Regions from separate parts of the Homo sapiens genome. Here all the other regions are linked to region 4. The links are contacts of gene promoters, found by promoter capture Hi-C in blood cells and fetal thymus (Javierre and others, 2016). All regions are on one chromosome and are shown on one strand. The core of a region is centred on a gene start or on the middle of the fragment in contact, and the rest is flanking DNA. Distances in the headings are between cores, read along the strand shown. Region 1 holds the start of GCGR (glucagon receptor). Region 2 holds the start of ARL16 (ARF like GTPase 16). Region 3 holds the start of UTS2R (urotensin 2 receptor). Region 4 holds the start of FASN (fatty acid synthase).

Region 1 (2,700 bases), core at 201-2,700, 290 kb before region 4:
AGGGGGAATGGCTGGGGTTAAGACCCTGGGTTCCCACGCCCCCAAAACAGAAGTAGAATTAGGGAGAAAGGACCCCCAAGACCAAGGACGGCACCTATCAGAGGAGCTCTCCACGGGCAGGAGGTGTCCCAGGGTGAGGGTGGCCAGGACAGGTCTAGGGAAATGCAGGTGGAGCAGGACCCAGAGATGGATTGGAGATGCCGGAGGGGAGGCTTCCTAGCGGGAGCGGAGACAGGCACTGCAGACAAGTGTCAGCGGGAGGGGCTCTGGGTGGGGAAGAAGACTGGGACTTGGAGGAAGACCTCTCCAGGGAGAAGGGAGGAGGGGGAAGGAGAAGGGGAGGAAGTGGGAGGAGGAGAGTGCTCATCCTGGAAGCCACAGCCTCGGAGAGAACTTTCTAGAAGGAAGGCATGACCATCAGTGTCCCAGGATGCTGAGAGGCCAGGAAAGGTGAGGCCTCAAGGCGCCATGGGGTTGTGGTGACCCCAAGATCACTGGGCACAGAGCAGGGATGGCTGGGGGTGGAAGGGGAGGGGCGCGGGCTGAGGTTCTAGGGCCCCAAAGCCAGGTGTGATGTGGCTCTAGGGGGAGTGAGGAAGGGGAGAATGTCCCTCTGAGCGTGCCTCTTGGGGAAGGCAGGGGTTCTGGCTGGGGCTTCTCCACTCCCAGGAAAGGAGGTGGTGTGGAAGGAGCGGGTGGGACGGAGGAGAGAGCGCCCCGCGGCCGCAGGACCAGCAGGTGGGGGACCAGGGTCAGCGCTGCTGGAGGGGCCTTAGCGCGACAGGACTGGCCAGAGACCGGGGATGTGGCACAGAAAGAGTTAAAGGGCACCCCAGGGACCGCCCTGCCGGTCCACCCATGTCACCCATGTTGGCCCCTACTCCAGCCCCCGTCTGCTCTGCAGGGGAAGGAACCGGGAGCCGCGGTGGGGGCGACTGGGGGTGTCGGTCTTTCCAGAAAATCAGGCAGGCATCAGGAAAGAAGGGGCGAGAACCCGGGGACGCGAGAGGAAGGGGGCGAGGGGGCGCCCAGGGAGGCGGAGGGAGCGAGAGGAAGGGGGGCTGAGCCACGGCCCCCACGCCCGCGCGCCCCTCCGCGTCCCAGGGCGTCCCCTCCCGGAGCTGGGACCCACCGCGACCACCACCTGCTGGGCCAGGGTCCGCGGGCTCAGGGGTCTGCAGGATTAGGGTCTGCGGAACCAGGACCCGTGGGACAAAGGTCTGTGGGGCGCGGGTCCGCGGGGTGGAATTCAGCGCGCCGAGTCTGCGTATGGCCGGGGTACGAGGCGCTCCCTGCGCAGGGTGGGCAGGACCGAAGCTCGCCGGGAGGCTGCGCGGAGGGCGGGCGGGGACCCTCGGCTGCCGCTCCCACCCCCGCGGGGCCGCCCCCGAGCCCGCCCTCCGCCGCCGCCCTCGCCCTGCGTCGCCGCCGGAAAGTTTGCACCGACCCCGATCTGGCAGCGCCGCGAAGACGAGCGGTCACCGGCGCCCGACCCGAGCGCGCCCAGAGGACGGCGGGGAGCCAAGCCGACCCCCGAGCAGCGCCGCGCGGTGAGCACCTGGGCCGCGGCCCCGAGGGGACGTTGGGGAGTCGACCCGGTGGGGACAGAGACCGCGGGGCGGGCGCGGCGGGGCCGGGGGCGCGGGGAGCGGGGAGCCGGCCGGGCGGTCTCCGGGGTCCGGGCTGGTGCGCTCCTCAGTCCCGTCAGACACCCCCGTTCCCAACCCCGGCTCGGACACCACCCGGTCCTGCACCGTCGGGCAGGTCCAGGGGTCTCAGCCCCTCCCCCGTTCTCTGGTCCTGGGGGGCGCGGCTGGGGGCGGGGGTGTCGCTGGCCGCCTGGCGCCCTGCGGCGGCCACACTGCAGCGGCCACACTCCCCACTCAGGGCCCCGGGCCCCGCCGCCCTGGGGAGCGCACAAAGCGCCGCGGACGCGTCCCCGAGGCGCGGGGTCTCACCAGCGCTGTCTCCCCTCGGTGGGCTCCTGCCCCGAGGACTGCCCGGTGGCACCGGCGCGGCCCAGGATGGGGTGAGGGGTGTCTGCGCCCCGCCTGGCCGCTCCTCTTCCGCGGCCCACACTGGCGACTTTGACCCCGGCAAGCGGGTCACTGCCCTGCCCGGCTCCGGCCCCCCCGGCGCCCCACCACCCGGCCGACTCGGCCACCGGGCTTATGCTCCGACTCTGAACCGACTGACCCCGGCCCCCTCGGCGCCCGCATCCTCCAAGGACCGGCCAGGGCTGCTCTCTGCCCTTGGTATTGGGGACATCAGGGTTGGGGGGTCTGGGTGCACCCACGCCTGCCCCGCCCCCACGGGGTGAGGGCGCAGGGATAGGGCTTTGTCAACAGCCTGTGGCCCCTGATCCCGCCCCGGTGCCCTGACCTTCCACTACCTTCTCTGGTTTCACAAAAACATCCCGGCTCCCATCCCGGAGCTCCTCAAAGCGTCTGAGAGGCCCCTTGCGGACGCCCTGGGAGCCCCGCTGCCTTCCTGGACCAGTGGCCGCTCCACCCATCCTGGGGGCCCAGCTCCAGGTCTGCGGGTCCCTCAGCCGCCCCCAGTGGGAATCGGTGGAGCCTGACGCAGCCAGGAGCGCCCAAGAGTCACGTGTTCTGCCAGGGAGGACATGGGACAGGACACGGGGTGCCAGCCCTGCAAAGCGGCCGGGGCAGTGGAGCTCAGGTGGCCCTAAGCCCTGGT
Region 2 (2,700 bases), core at 1-2,500, 410 kb before region 4:
TAGCTTTAAACAAAGCTTTGGGAACAAGCAGAAGCAGAGGGAATCGAGTTTTATGAAGACGACCTGGTGTCACTCGTCTCTGTCCTCATGTGGCCATCAGTTCTCCATACTGGTATCCGCGGCACAGGCCTTATCAAGATGAGACCAACCAGAGGTACGTATAAGTCCAACATAAACACAGACGTACCGGGGAGTGACACAGAGGGCCAAGTCTGTTCTCTGCGGAGCAGCAGCCCTGCCCTCAGCAAGCCCTCTGTGAGCTCCTACCGGGGGCCTGGGAGCGCAAGCACCAGAAACCAGACAGGGTGCCCAGCAGGAAGCAACACTAGCTAAGACCTATTTCCATGAGTAGTATAGTCACTAAATAACCCAAACCCCTTTCTACACACAGCAAGGTTGGGGACTGGACGTCACAGAAATGTAGACACACTTCCCTAAAGGAAGCCCATATAGGATTACAACCCACCAGGAGAGAACGGCAGTTTCCATAGTAACTGGACCAGATGGGGCCCATGCACCCCCCAAGCTCCCGGATGGTGATCTTTCTCTGTGCCACGATGTCAGTAAGATTGGTGCCCACCTATAGGAAAAACCACGATGCAAAAAGAACAATACAACCGCTGTCCCGTTGTGAACTCCTGAAGAGCACCGTGCCCACACCTTACACGGTGGCCTGAACCCCGCAGACCCATTCTCCCTAACGCAGGAACGGCGAGCAGGGACCGACGCCCATCAGTAGCTGGACTCGCTGTGGGGGCGACCAGCCACAGGAAGCCGTTGCGAGGGGAGAGGAAGTGCCCGTGGAGGGCGGCAGGCCCCCTCATCCCGCGCCAATTATCCTCAGCTCGGGCCGTCCCCCGCTCCCGAAGGCTGGCCTTAAGTCACGACCTGACCCGCTGCGCCTCGGCGTGCACTTAGAGGAGCCCGGAGCTCTTCGCCAAGCGCAGAACTGACCCCCCGCAACTCCACCCGCGGGGGCGGACACCTACCGTGGGCCGTGTCGGGGGCGGCTCCCCCAGGTCGCCTTTCCCATCCCGGGAGCTCACCTGTGCGAAGCGGTCAAGGACCCGAGCAGCTAAAGGGTGAGTCCCCGCCCCACTCCGGGTGCCCCCCGCGCCCCGGTCCCGTCCCCGCGCGGAAGGATATCCTGCAGCCGTTTCACCAGCAGCGTCTTCCCGACGCCCGTGGCCCCCAGCAGGAGACACATTCCGTGCTTCGCTCCACCCGGCACCCGTAGCTCGGCGCCGCGGCTCAAGGCCCGCCCACCGGCCACTCTCATTGGATAGTTCTCACCTTCGGACTTCTCATTGGTTCTTAGGGCTCATTGTTCCAAGGGCGCGTCCAATTAGCGCGCAGCGTTAGCGGGAGAGCGGAAGACCCCGCCTCCTCGCGGCTCTAGGGCCGGCGCGGTGACGTGCGCGTGCGCGCACTGGAGGGAAAAGGCGGAAGCGGAAGTCGGGGGGCGCGCCAGCTCGTAGCAGGGGAGCGCCCGCGGCGTCGGGTTTGGGCTGGAGGTCGCCATGGGGCGAGGCAGCGGCACCTTCGAGCGTCTCCTAGGTAACGCGTCCCCACCCGACGGCTCGGCCTTGGTCAGCCCGCAGCCTCCGCCCGGCGCTGAGTCAGCGCGGCCCCGAGGGCCCGAGGGGCGCGGACCGGCCGCCCTGCCCGCCTCTCCCCGGCCCGCTGTCCTCCCGGGTTCGGAGCCGCCGATCCTGGACCCTCGGCGCGGCCGTGGGGTCGGCGTCCGTCGGGCGTTGGCAAATGGGGCTCTGCGAGGGTCCGCGCAGGGCGCCAGGGGCGCTCGGCGACCTCGCTCCTCCGCGGGCCCGGGCATTCGGCCGATTTCCTCTTGACCGACGAGCACCCGGCCGAGTGGGCCACAAGGCCTGAGTCATGAAAGTGGGTGACTCAGTCGGATGTTAGGCTCGCACTTGGGCTTCTGACCCAAAACACTGGGCCTCGAAGGGTGGAGCCGGCAGTGTTCTCTCTGGGACCTTCGAGCTCTCTTGGGGGCTGCGGGTCCCAGACCCACCTTTTGTTCCCACACTGGCTTCGGGAAGTGCCTAATGGTTTAGGAAGGCGTTTTCTCACGTTTTTGGAGGTGAAAGCTGATCCTATCTGAGCCTCCTGGAATTGACGCGTTTTGGGAGGGAAACGAATGTTGATGTGCACGTGCCCAGCAGCACGTGGAAAATGCGTCTAATGTTTGGGGGTAGGAGCTTGGGTGGTCGAATGGGCTGCCCAAGCTTGCCTTTTTGTCAAGTAGGGTTTTCAAGGAGACTTCAAGTGAGACACCTTCCTTGCCAAGGGAACCAGCAAGCAGACTGAGTATCTCAGCCACACAGGTAGTTCAGTGCTTCAGGGATGAATCCAGAGGTTAACTACTGAATCAGTATAGAAAGTGGACGTGGCTTGGCTTGTTAGATCGTTTCTGTATCCGGGAAAGGCGATGTGGGCAGAGCTGGAGCTGCCCCCCCAGAGGGGCCAGTTGTTGGAGACAGCAGTGATGTGGTATGATGACAGGTATGCTGGCGAGTCCTCCTTGGAGCCCCGTTCTGCCCTTATTTCCAAAGCACTTGGCTTGGAGCAAGGGGCCTGGAGTCTACACTGCAGGCCTCTCTAGCCCTTGCCCAAGCTAAGGTCCCATTGAAACCGGGAGCATCTGGGCGAACGGGGACTCCAAGGGACGGGTGATAGGGT
Region 3 (2,700 bases), core at 199-2,698, 270 kb after region 4:
GAGACCCCATCTCAAAAAAATAAATAAATAAATAATAAAAAAATAAAATAAAAAATAAAAAACCCGGTGTTCGTGTCAGGGCAGGTCGTTTCAGCAGCTACTCGGTGAACTGGCTGAGGTGACAGCAGATCGTTTCGGCAGCTGGCTTGCGGGAAATTTAATTCTTGGAGCAGGCATTCTGGGTCCTGAGTGCTTTTCCCCAGCCCTAGCCCCTAGACTCCAGCTTAGTAATCAGCTCTCACAGAACCATCACGTCGGAGGCAGCCTTCCACCCCCTTTCCTCCCGCGCACAGGCAGGATGAGCTGCTCCCCTTTCGGGTCGGAAGCTGCAGCTGTATTTGGTTTCAGTTCGGCTGTTTTCAGCTCACAGAGAATGAACTGTCTTATTGTGTGACCCTTGCTCCGTCCAGCGGACGCTCGGAGACCAGAGGGACTTTTCCCGCCCTCTCCAGCCCAGCCTCGCCTCCCCAGCACGTGGCAAACGTCCCACGGAGGGGACTGGTGGGCATCTGGGGCTCCCCCGGATCCAGCTGATTGCAGGAGCCTCTCGGCCATTCACACTTGGCCACCTCCTCTCCCCCAGCAGAACCCCTTCAGCTTTAGGGGCCGGTCCGCGGCCTCAGGCAGCAGATGAGCCCCGGGCGGAGTGGAGTGGGCGAGGCCAGCTCCTCGCTGGGGGCCCTTTAGACCCCGTGTTCACAGCTCTCCAGCTCTCCTCTAGTCTAATTTATTAATGTTCTGTGTCTTTTTCTTTCAGGGGTTCAGCATGAGTGAAGGCCCACATCCTACCTCCGAGCAGCAAGTGAAACCGAGTGGGGGCCAGCACCCAGCTCAGGGGCTCGAGGGTGAGGCTGTGGGGTCCTTCCTCCTACCCCGCGGGGCCCTGCAGCTCCCAGCGTCACTTCCGTGGATGTGGCCACCACGAGTCCCTGCCGAGGCCTGGAGAGGCTGCGTGGGCTTCTAAGAGCATCTGTGGGAGACCCGCAACAGGGGCGGGGTCAAGGCCCCCAAAGAGCCCGTCCCCGCCTGGGCGGGTGACTCCCTCCCTCCCTTACCTCCTTTCTATGACCCTCTCGGGGTTTAGGGGTGTTCCTGCCCCCCACCTGCGCGCGGGCGGGTCCAGGGCTTGGTGGACACGGAGAATCCCAGGCTCCGTGCCCTGCAAACACGGGCGTGAGGGGCGCAGGGGTGAACGCTGGAGGCGGAGAACCCAAGAGGGGCTGCGGGGTCAGCCTTGGGGCAGCCGGGCTGGAGGCAGCTTCGCTCCGCAGACGCAGACGCGAGACCCGCCTGGGACCCTCCGCCGACCCCGCTGCGGCCCCGCGACCCCCGCGTCTTCCCGGCGCCGCGCGGTCAGCGCCGCCCCCTAGACACCCGGCGCCGTCCCCTCCGCGCGCCTGCTGCCCGCTGGGGTTATTTTAATACCGGGCCCTGGCGCGGGGCGCGGCGCATTCCCAGCTGGCGGCGGGCAGGTGGCGGCGGCGCAGAGACCCGGCGCGGGGCGGGGGGCGCGGCTTTGGTGGCGGGACTGGCGGGCGCCCCTGCCGTGTGCTCTGGAAGCCGAGGCCACCGCGGAGCCCCTCGCGCCCCCTCTGCGCTGGGACAGGGGAGCGCGCCTCGGAAAGTTCCCCGCGGCCCCGCTGCGCGAGGAGTTTGGAGCCGCGAGCGGCTGCCCCCACGCGCGACCCCAGGCTCGGCGGGCAGGTCTGGCCGCTCAGTGACCGGAGGCAGGTGGGTCCTCGGTGGGTGACCGGGAGCGCGCGGGGACTGCCGGGTCTGTGCCCTTCGGGGCCCTCCGCAGGGCTGGGCCGGGGTTTCGCGGTGGGAACCCACCCTGGGCGAGGGGAGCGGGGTCCAGCGAGGCGGCTTCTCCCGTGCCGTGGAACTTTCGGCCCCTCCCCTTCCCCCCTAGCGACCCTGGAGCAATCCTAGCGGCCCGGCGGCCGCTGTCCCCCTGCCCGTGACTCGGGCTCGCGCACAACTGGGGAGCCCGGTGCACCCTCGGCTTCTGCGCCGTCCCCTGGGTGAGGGCTCTGGAAATGCCCTGGGTGGGGGCAGCAAGGGGGTGAGGGTCCCCTGGACAGATGGAGCTGGGAGCTGCTCGGCCTGGTGGGAAAGGGCGGACAGGGCACATTTCCAGGCCCTGGAAGGCCCCCAGCGCCCCCACCTGTTGACAACTCCCCACCCCAGCCAAGACTGCTCCCTGCGCAGCCATGAGTGTTCGGCCTAAATTCAGCGTGGCTCGTGGAATCAGGCAGCCTCCTGTGTCTTGTTTCTTCAGCCCACCACCGCGCTGTTTCATCCAGGCTGCTGACCCCAGCGGCGACTCCTTCACTGGCTTCATGTCACAGTTTGCCTGCCCCGTCCACTGGGGACATTTGAGCTGTTTCCAGCTTCTTAGGAGTCAAGCTGCCGTGAACTTTCGCACGCTTGTCATTTTCTGAACGTTGGCAGCCCTTTATCTAAGGTACTAACCTGAGAGTAGAATTGCCGGGTGAGAAGGTATAGGCGGTCAACTCTGCAAATCGTGCCAATGGCTTTCCAAAGCGGCGGCACAGTCCAGGTTCCCAGCAACAGGAAACGGCAGGGCCAGCTCCTCCACAGCCCCCACGCCTGTTGACAAGGATATCTGCCTTTTCACGCGTTCATCCTTGTCAGCACGCAGGGGCTCCTGTGGCCCTGACTGGCATTTCCCTGCTT
Region 4 (2,700 bases), core at 147-2,646:
CACCAGGGGGCTCACAGTGAGGAGCAGGCAGGGTCACCTGAGATGGGGACAAGGCCTCAGGTGGCCAGCCTGCTAAGGGCCATCAAAGAAATGGAGAGGCAGGGTCCCAAAGCCGGGGCATGGAGGTGGCTGGGAGCCCTAGAGGGGGGTACTCAGCACCCATGCTCACCCGTGTTGGGGTGGGGGCCCGCTGTCCAGGCCAGCCCAAGAGCCACCAGGGCTGGGGAGGGACGAAATGGGGATAGCCTATGCTCTGGGGGAAAGGTGGCCCCTGCCCCACTGTGGACCGACCCAGCCAGTCCAACCCCTCCAGCAGGGTCCAACCTGGAGAACCACTCCTGGCCAGGACACGCAGGTGTTGCCTGGCACCCTTCACCTGCGCGGGTGAACCCACAGACGCTTGCCTCCCCATACCAACCCACACACCACAGGAGGCCCTCCCTGGAGCCCAGGTCCCTAAGACCCGGAACGGGTGCCCAGGCCGCCGGCTCCTCCTCCAGCATGAGGGCTGGTGCGGCCCTGGGGGGAGGGGGCGGAGGCCAGCGCTGGTCTGGCCACTTGCACGAGGCCCCAGGGCCTGATACGCGCGCCGCCCCTCGGCAGTGCGGCCTCCCTTGGGCCGTCCCGGCAGGGAGGCGGCCGCCTTCCCACCCGCTGCGATTCACAGAGGCTTGGCTGCCCCGGGCCAGCTCCAGGCCCGCACGCTGGGTCCTCGCCGCTTGCTATTCACGCGGGGTCGACGGCCAGGCAGGGGGTGGGAACACCGCGGCGCGCCCGGCCTCCCTTCGCCCCGGGCGGGGGCTGCTCGGGACCCCTGCGCTTCGGCCGGGCTGCGCCACGTGATGGGGAGGCCGGTCCCGGCGCGGCCCCTGCGCCCCCCCGTTCCTCCCTCGCGGCGTCCCCTTCGGGCTGGGCCTCGGCTCCGGGGCGGCTCCGGGAGGAGGATGCGGCGGCGCCTTTGTGGGCGCGGGGAGGCCGAGCCGGGGGCTCCTCCAGGCCCTTCAGGGTCCGCGGCCTCCCCCACGGGAAGCGAAGGCGGCTGTTGGTGGCTTTCCCCGGCGTCCTTCCCCCGCCATCCGCCCACCTACTCCGCGGGGCCCCGGGCGCCTCCGAAGGGGCACGAACACCGAGACCCGGACAGGCCGCCCAGGCGACCCCTGGATACGGGGCCGGGCCACGCGCGCCCCGAGAGCGGAGGATGAGGAGCCGGGCCACCCCGGGAACCCCGGGCCCAGCCCCGACCACGACCCGCGCCCCGGCCCCAGCGCCGGCTGCTCGTACCTGGTGAGGGCGCGGGCGGCGGTGCGGGCGGCGGAGAGCGAGGCTGGAGCGCGGCGGAGCGGGAGGCTGAAGCGCGGCGGAGAGGGAGGCCGGGGCCGCTGCCGTCTCTCTGGCTCCCTCTAGGCCGGCGCCGACGCTATTTAAACCGCGGCCATCCCCGGGCGGCCACGCCACATGGGCTGACAGCTTGGCTGCGCCGCCCAGGCCAATGAGCGTCGGGGCTGCGCCCCGGGACCCGGCGCGCCGCCGCCGGTGGGGTGATGCTCGTGCGCGCCGCCGCCCGAGCCGGGACCCTGCGCGGGAACGCGCCTGGGGGGGTGGGGCTGGGACTGAGGAGCGCCGGGGGCGGGGCGGGCGGGAAACCACCGCCCCCCGACTTCCGCCTCCCGCCCCGCGGGCCCCGACGCGCACGCGGCTGCGACCGAGCCCGCGGCGCGCCTCCCGAGCCATCCCCGACCCCCGTGTCCGCCGGGGCCACGTGTGCGGGATGGGAATGCTTGGGCCACACTGGGGACTACCCCGTGGCCACACCGGGGGTCCAGCCGGCTGCGGCGGGGCGCTCGGACCCACAGGCGCGCGGAAGGACGGACGGACCCGCGTGCCCGCACTTCGGCCGCCGACTCCACGCCGCCGTCGCTGCCCGCGCGGAGCTGGCTGAGGGCGCGGCGTTGCGCGGCGCGGCGGCAGCAGCAACCAATCGGGCGCCAGGGGTGTTCGCACCGGCCCAATGGCGGCGCGCGGGTGGGCGTTGCTAGGCGATAGGGTGATGGGCGGGCGGCGGGGCGGTCCCGGATGCCTCGCGGGCCGCGGCGCAAGTGCGGGCGTTGACCCCGGCCGCGGGCGCCCCGGCCGGGGTTACTGCCGGTCATCGCAGCGCATCCCCGGTTTTCCTCGCGGGTGCGGCGGGGAACCCAGACCCGAGACGGACGTCCACCCACCCGACGGCCCCTCCTTAGCAGCTTCCCGGGGACCCGGACGAGGCGCAGGGCCGAACGGGCGAGCGCACTCCAGGCCGCTGGAGCTCGGCGGAGGGGAGGGGCGCGGCCACGTGGCGAGCGGAGTCGGCCGGGACACCCACCTGGTGTGGTGCGGACAAAGGGAGCCGCTGCCCCACTTCCCAGGGCGGAGGCTGCGAGTTTTCCAGGCGCGCACCCACGGGCGGGGGCTCAGCCCGGCCCTCGCGCGCTCCCTCCCTCCCGAGTGATTCCTCGAATCGTGGCCCCTTGGGCGGCCTGAGCCCTGAAGCGCGGCCTCCCTTTTCTGACCGCTTCGCGCTTGCGGGGCCAGGCACCCCATGGGGGGCAAGCGGGCCTTGTGAGGCCACAGGTGTCTCTGGCTGCGTGTCCTACTTTGAGGGCTCAGCAAGCCCGGGCCGCTGAAGGGGAACCGGAGACTGGGGCCCCCGGCCCCTCTGCAGGT

Evidence for each region. The method cuts DNA at HindIII sites, captures the fragments that hold promoters and counts their contacts. A CHiCAGO score of 5 or more calls a contact.
Region 1: a contact is called between the fragment with the promoter of GCGR here and the fragment with the promoter of FASN in region 4, in 3 of 17 cell types (erythroblasts, monocytes and neutrophils). The highest score is 10.5, in erythroblasts.
Region 2: the fragment with the promoter of ARL16 here is called in contact with the fragment with the promoter of FASN in region 4 in 1 of 17 cell types (M0 macrophages); the score reaches 6.1 in M0 macrophages.
Region 3: a contact is called between the fragment with the promoter of UTS2R here and the fragment with the promoter of FASN in region 4, in 2 of 17 cell types (neutrophils and monocytes). The highest score is 13.1, in neutrophils.

Annotation. Positions count from the first base shown.
Region 1 is chr17:81,802,700-81,805,399 of GRCh38, forward strand. GCGR (glucagon receptor) reads left to right here and starts at 1,451. Exons shown (of 14, transcript NM_000160.5): 1 at 1,451-1,550. It overlaps LOC105376789 (a long non-coding RNA gene), which reads right to left and starts at 2,046. Exons shown (of 4, transcript XR_001753046.3): 1 at 1,959-2,046. RefSeq lists an enhancer at 920-1,419. The HindIII fragment of the contact is 37,078 bases long and covers 1-2,700 here.
Region 2 is chr17:81,682,547-81,685,246 of GRCh38, forward strand. It overlaps ARL16 (ARF like GTPase 16), which reads right to left and starts at 1,251. Exons shown (of 5, transcript NM_001040025.3): 1 at 1,147-1,251; 2 at 990-1,048; 3 at 467-580. The coding sequence starts at 1,207. It overlaps HGS (hepatocyte growth factor-regulated tyrosine kinase substrate), which reads left to right and starts at 1,465. Exons shown (of 22, transcript NM_004712.5): 1 at 1,465-1,557. The coding sequence starts at 1,521. RefSeq lists enhancers at 716-935, 1,153-1,447 and silencers at 1,036-1,115, 1,326-1,385, 1,596-1,695. The HindIII fragment of the contact is 2,231 bases long and covers 14-2,244 here.
Region 3 is chr17:82,370,317-82,373,016 of GRCh38, forward strand. UTS2R (urotensin 2 receptor) reads left to right here and starts at 1,449. Exons shown (of 3, transcript NM_018949.3): 1 at 1,449-1,731; 2 at 2,282-2,467. The HindIII fragment of the contact is 32,713 bases long and covers 1-2,700 here.
Region 4 is chr17:82,096,840-82,099,539 of GRCh38, forward strand. It overlaps FASN (fatty acid synthase), which reads right to left and starts at 1,397. Exons shown (of 43, transcript NM_004104.5): 1 at 1,282-1,397. RefSeq lists an enhancer at 1-621 and silencers at 490-539, 600-809, 830-1,019, 1,090-2,569. The HindIII fragment of the contact is 59,862 bases long and covers 1-2,700 here.